Regions from separate parts of the Homo sapiens genome. Here region 2 is linked to region 1. The links are contacts of gene promoters, found by promoter capture Hi-C in human tissues and cell types (Jung and others, 2019). All regions are on one chromosome and are shown on one strand. The core of a region is centred on a gene start or on the middle of the fragment in contact, and the rest is flanking DNA. Distances in the headings are between cores, read along the strand shown.

Region 1 (3,016 bases), core at 366-2,865:
CATCCCTGAGGAATCACTTGACAAGGGTCACATAGTGATAGGTCATGGGTCTAGGTTTTGGGAGGACTGTTCTCCATCCCTTGCCCTTGAGCTTTGGGTAGTATCAGTAACCGCATCCAGGAGCCTCTGCCTTCCGTCTGCATCCACAGAGCCCCAGCTCCCACCTCTCCACTCACCAGCCCTGATGGAATAATGTCAATTCATGACCTTGCGCAACCGTGCACCTTTCAGCAATGATGTTGTCACAATTTACCTGCCAGCTGATTGCATCCAGCACTGAGTTGTTCCATTGTGCACTGGCCCAGGGACCATATGCAGTAATAACAACTACGTATTCTGCATCTATTATGTTCTGGGCACTATGCTCTGAGATTTATCTCTAATTCTCATACCAACCCTGAAAAATAAGGTGCCAGTAAATGCCATTTTACAGATGAGAAAACTAAGGTTCACAGAGTTTACCGGCCCAAAACAACACAGGCAGAGCTAGGATTCAAATCTATCTTACCTAGTTCCAAAGCTCATCCATGCTCTTCTCTCTATACCTCACCATCTCTGAACAAGAGTTCAGGCTGGGTGTAGTGGCTCACATCTGTAATCCTAACACTTTGGGAGGCTGAGGTGGGCAGATGGCTTAAGCCCAGGAGTCCAAGACCACCCTGGGCAACACAGCACAACCCTGTCTCTACAAAAATATGTAAACATTAGCTGGGTGTGGTGGCACGTGCCTATAATCCCAGCTACTTGGGAGGTTAAGGTAGGAAAATCACCTGAGCCCAGGAAGGTTGAGGTTGCAGTGCACTGTGATCGCACCACTGCACTCCAGTCTGGGTGACAGAGTGAGACTCTGCCTCAAAAAAAATAAGAGTTCAAAAGGTGATGGGGGGGCCAGATGCAGTGGCTCATGCCTGCTATCCCAGCACTTTGGAAGGCTGAGGCAGATGGATCACCTGAGGTTGGGAGTTTGAGACCAGCCTGACCAACATGGAGAAACCCCATCTCTACTAAAAATACAAAATTAGCCAGACATGGTGGCACATGCCTGTAATCCCAGCTACTCGGGAGGCTGAGGCAGGAGAATCACTCAAACCCAGGAGGTAGAGGTTGCAGTGAGCTGAGATCATGCCATTGCACTCCAGCCTGGGTGACAGAGCAAGACTCCATCTCAAAAAAATAAAATTAAAAAAGGTGGTGGTGGAGGGATCTGAAATATGAGATCCAGACACTTAGGGTCCACAGCCTCAACTTCTCCCTCAGTTCCTCCTGATCAGATGTAAGGCCCCTCCACCTTGTATGTCACTCAACAGCAAGCCCGCTTCCTTACCGTGGGCCGCTTCCAGATGATGCCTTGAGTTTGCGGAGAGCCTGGTCCAAGATCCTTGTAGCCCAAAGCTGATGGACATGCTGGGAACTCAGGGTCCTTAAATAGGACCCCTGAGTCCAAGCACTGTTGCCTCAGGGTCTTGAAATCCTGGCCCAAGTACTTCAAAGCGTTTTGGTTGGAGCCAAGACCTTGAGTGGCTGCCCGCTGCCTAGATACACCAGCTGCCTGGGCTGCCATGGCCGTGGGCTCTGTAGGGTGGACAGAAGGGCAGGGCTGCACTGTACTCTCAGACACCTGCTCCACTGGGAGGGGAGCTATAAGGCACTAAAGGAGGTGGAGCAGACAAACATTTCACCTGAGGCCCTGTTCCAGAAGGAAGTGAGTCATGGCCAGGGACAAATATGTACCCAAGGTCCAGGCCAATCTGCCCCACCTTCTTCTTCTGCCTTTTGCAAATAATTTGGGGTCTGGGAACTTTCCAGGGCCCATCCCAGGCCATTAGCCTAAGAAATCCATTAGGATCTTGACCCCACCCCGGCATTCCCTCCACACACCTCTTTGCAAGACCTGCTTACCTTGCTTCAAGCCCATTGACTGAGATGAGAAGGCTTATTGAGCAGCTTGAAGCAAATATTCATCAAGGAATTGGAGGCATGGCTCTGAGCAGGAAGAAGGCAAGTAGTTACAGGGGCCTCCTTTCCTGCCAGAAATGTTTTGGTGCATATTTCCTAGGAAGGCAAAAAATACCAGAGAGTAGTGATTCACAGGCCAGATTTGGAATAAGCCTGACTGGAGGAGGTTCCACCTGTGAGTGAACGCTTTGGCCTCTGACTGCCTCGGTTTCTATCCCAGCTCCCCCGGTAATTTGCTCTGTCATGTTGGGCAAGTTGTTTAACCTCTTTTCTCCTAAGTTTTTTTATCTATAAACTGGAAGAGCATAGGAGAGCCTACCACAAAGGGTTGTTCGGAAGAGTGATGAGATAGTACATGTCATCTGCTTAGAACAGTATGAAGTAACATTCAGTGAATGTCAGGTATCACTATTCCTTGAAGCCAGGATTCCCAGAAAGGCCTTGGAATCAGGAGCCTTGATTCCAATCTCAGAAGTGAGTTACAAGCTGTATGACCTTGGATTAGTCACTTCTCTCTGGGCTCCAGTTTCCTACATCTGGTCTACCCGAAGGATGTCAACCACACCAATGCTTTTTGAACTTCAGTGTTTGTGGCACACTAGAAAATGGTCCCCCAAGGATACCAGGTCCTCATCTTGAGAACCTGTAAATAGTCCCTTATCTGGGAAAAGGGTTTTTGCTGCTATGACTAAGTTAAGGATCTCGAGATGGGAAGATTATCCTGACCCTAAATACACAAGTGTCCTAAGAGGAAGGCAGAAGAAGATTTGACAATAGACAAAAAGGAGAGGTGATGAAATGAGGCAGGCAGAGGTTAGCGAGATCCTGCCCCACTCCAGGGAACACCAGCAGCCACAGGAGCTGGAAGGGGCAAGAATGGATTCTCCCCTAGAGCCGCTGGAGGGATGTGGGCCTTCCAACACCTCGATTTCACAGCCTTGGGACTTCTGGCCTCCAGAACGGTGACAGAATACATGTATGTTGTTCTAAGCCACCATATTTGTGGTCATTTGTTACAGAAGACGCAGGAAACAAATATAGTGTGCAGAAGAATCCCCTG
Region 2 (3,016 bases), core at 351-2,850, 52 kb before region 1:
AGAAATCTGGTGGGGGACCACCAGATTTCTAGGTTCTACTTTCTTATTTTCTAGTTGTAGAATCTACCAAGATCTCAAATTATTCAGGAGTAATAGCCTTGGGGTTTCAATGAGAGCTAATCTCTTCTTCAGACCTACAGACCTGGTGTCCAAGATCAAGAGTTTGACCAGAGTGGGGGAATCTCACTCAACCTGAGCCATAGTTTATTCTGCCCTTGGCTATGGTGAAATGGTTCAAGAACAGGCACATGACCCAAGCTGAGCCCATCAGAGACTTACTTCTCTGGGATTTCTGAATTGGAACTAACAGAAGGGACTCCTTTCTTAATGCTAGTGATATTAGGGAATGAAGAAATCTAGACTAGCACAATGTCATCAGCACTAGAGAGGAGATGTGGAAAGAAAGAATCCTGGTAGTATCCAAGTCCCTTGTCCCAAGCCTTCATCTCCTTCCCTTAATTTGGTTTCATGAGCTGGTACACTATTTTCACTAGCCTAGCTCGAGTTGGGCTTTATTATATGCAACTGGAAGTGTTGACTCCCATAAGAGAGTAGCTCTCAGATCCAGAGTAGAAGCTTTCCCATGCCTGGGGTTCCTATGCCAGGCTAGAGAAGAGGATTCAGACCCCATAATTTGTCCCTTTCCATTCTTTGTCCCTGACACATAGGCCCTTTTGACCAGAAGACCATCCATTATTTGTGGTTTAGGTCTATGGTCAACTGCCTATAACTCTGAAAAACAACAATATTACAGAAAATGTGTATCAGCTGGCATGCTCACTTCTGGAGCCCCCATGGGTCATTGGCAGCAGAAGTAGAAGAGTCCAGGGTCACAGTCATTCCTCTAATTTTGAGTGTAAAACCAAAATCACCCATGCAGAGGCCTCACAAGTATCTTCCTGTCAGCTCCTGGCCTAATAGCCTTTACACACCCTTGGCAGGGGCTTGCCCAACCACATGGGCCGTCTTTCCACAAACAACTTGACCACCTCTGCTGCCATCAGTATGCTCCAGATCCACCCTACCAAGAATCACCCAGCAGAAACTGAGCCAGGCAGGTGGGGCCTCTTGGTGGCACAAATCCAGAGCAGCGAGGTAAGGGAGCAGGCCTTAGCCACTGCCCATGGGTGGATGGAAAGAAACAGTCATCTTTCAAATGCAGGATCCTGACTGCAAATGACAGGCTGGCCTGGCATCACTGCAGGAAGATAGAGGGGAGAGAGAGGAGGCCAGACAAGGAGGGCTCTTTAGTCTTTGGAGGCACCTGGCTGCTTCTCAGTCAGCAGCAGGTTTTCATCCTCAATCCAAACTCCAGTTAAAGCAAGAGAAGGGAGATACAGGAATGAGAATATGGCACCCACTCCCTGCAACCCCAGCTACTCCCTATAACCCCAGCTACTTCTGATACCCTCTTAACCTGACTTTTAAACTGTTTTCACTTATGGATGTCATGCTCTAAATTATATGCCTGTGGCCAGATATAGAAGGACCACAGATCACACACACTGGAATATTTTATAAGCAGCTATAATTTGATGACTAAAAAACTGATATGCTTTATATATTATTTATGAGCGCAAATGTCATGCCACACAAAGCTATTTCAGTCCCTTTGAAAGAATGCTTTGCTGGTCTGGTTATATAAGGTAGGCCTGGCTGAGTGCAGTGGCTCACGCCTTTAATGCCCGCACTTTGGGAGGCCAAAGCGGGTGGATCACCTGAGGTCAGGAATTTGAGACCAGCCTGGCCAAAATGGGTGAAACCCCATCTCTACTAAAAACACAAAAATTAGCCAGATGTGGTGGCACGCACCTGTAATCCCAGCTACTCAAGAGGCTGAGGCAGGAGAATTGCTTGAACCTGGGAGACGGAGGTTGCAGTGAGCCGAGTTCACAGCACTGCACTCCAGCCTGGGCGACATAGTGAGAGTCCGTCTCAAAAAAAAAAAAAAGGTAGGCCTGATGGATGAAGAACTGAGTAGCCCACCCTGCAGCCATGCCCACCTACTATTGACTCTCCAAAACCATCACTTAACTTTCAAGCTGCCAAGAAATGTCCTTTTGGCTGGAATGTTCTCCCTTGAAATCAAGTTCATCTTTCAAGGTTCTCATCAAAATCTCCTCCTCGATGAAGCTGAGGTGAACCCAGCCCATTGTGTCAGGTCCCCATCACAGCAGATCTGACCTGCTCTGTTGCCAGTGGAGTGTGCATCTCACTTTCCACTTCAGATTGTGAGCACCTTGAGGGCAGTAACTATGTGATAATCCTCCATGTCCTCAGCTTTCAGCACAGCACCCGGCACATAATAGATGCTCACTACAGTTTGTTGAATTGATGCGCATACACTAAGTGCCTACTCAGGTTTTTATCTCTTCAAACAGAGTCTGGCTTTGTGCTACTTACATTCTAGGTGGAGATGAAAGAGCCACACTGGAGTAGAATTGGAGTTTATTTATTTGCAATTCCTTTCTCCTGCCATCAATTAGCAATTATTTTCCAACTCCCATTCTTCAACATAAAATATACTCGCATGCTCGTGCATGTGCACACATGCACATATACACCCTAAACTCTAAAGCCCTAAATTCCAGAATATGAGAAATAAAGTGTGGGGTGCAGATAGGATCTCGACCATTGCACTATTTCCTTACTGGTTTCTTATTACAATATTTTTTTCATACATTAATTTATACTGAGATATTGGGCCTCCAGACAGCTCTTGGTCTTCCTGATTAGAATTGTATTTTTCCCAAGAAATTCCTTTAATAAAATTGATTTAAAAATGGCCACCATGAGCCCCGCTGGAATTTGCTATAAGGAGTCTTTGCCTGTATAAAAAAGTGGATTCCAATTTGCTTCTGGCTAGACTTGTCAAGACACAAAGGTCTTGCTTTAACATATCTGTGAGGCTGTTAAGTCTGTAGAGGGGTGGCTGCCAGGAAAACTGGCATATTAGTCAGGGACTGCAGCGTGAGCCCAGAGACAGCTGTATTCCAGAGTTCAGAGACACCAGAAC

Evidence for each region. The method cuts DNA at HindIII sites, captures the fragments that hold promoters and counts their contacts. A contact is called where the count stands out against the background at its distance.
Region 2: a contact is called between a fragment that was not itself captured here and the fragment with the promoter of CAPN8 in region 1, in 1 of the 25 tissues and cell types used here (neural progenitor cells).

The regions. Positions count from the first base shown.
Region 1 is chr1:223,664,086-223,667,101 of GRCh38, forward strand. It overlaps CAPN8 (calpain 8), which reads right to left and starts at 1,616. Exons shown (of 21, transcript NM_001143962.2): 1 at 1,325-1,616. The coding sequence starts at 1,561. The HindIII fragment of the contact is 26,634 bases long and covers 1-3,016 here.
Region 2 is chr1:223,612,463-223,615,478 of GRCh38, forward strand. The region is part of intron 10 of CAPN8 (calpain 8); the gene reads right to left. Among named protein-coding and RNA genes, the nearest start is that of CAPN8, 52 kb to the right of the region's middle. The HindIII fragment of the contact is 3,236 bases long and covers 1-3,016 here.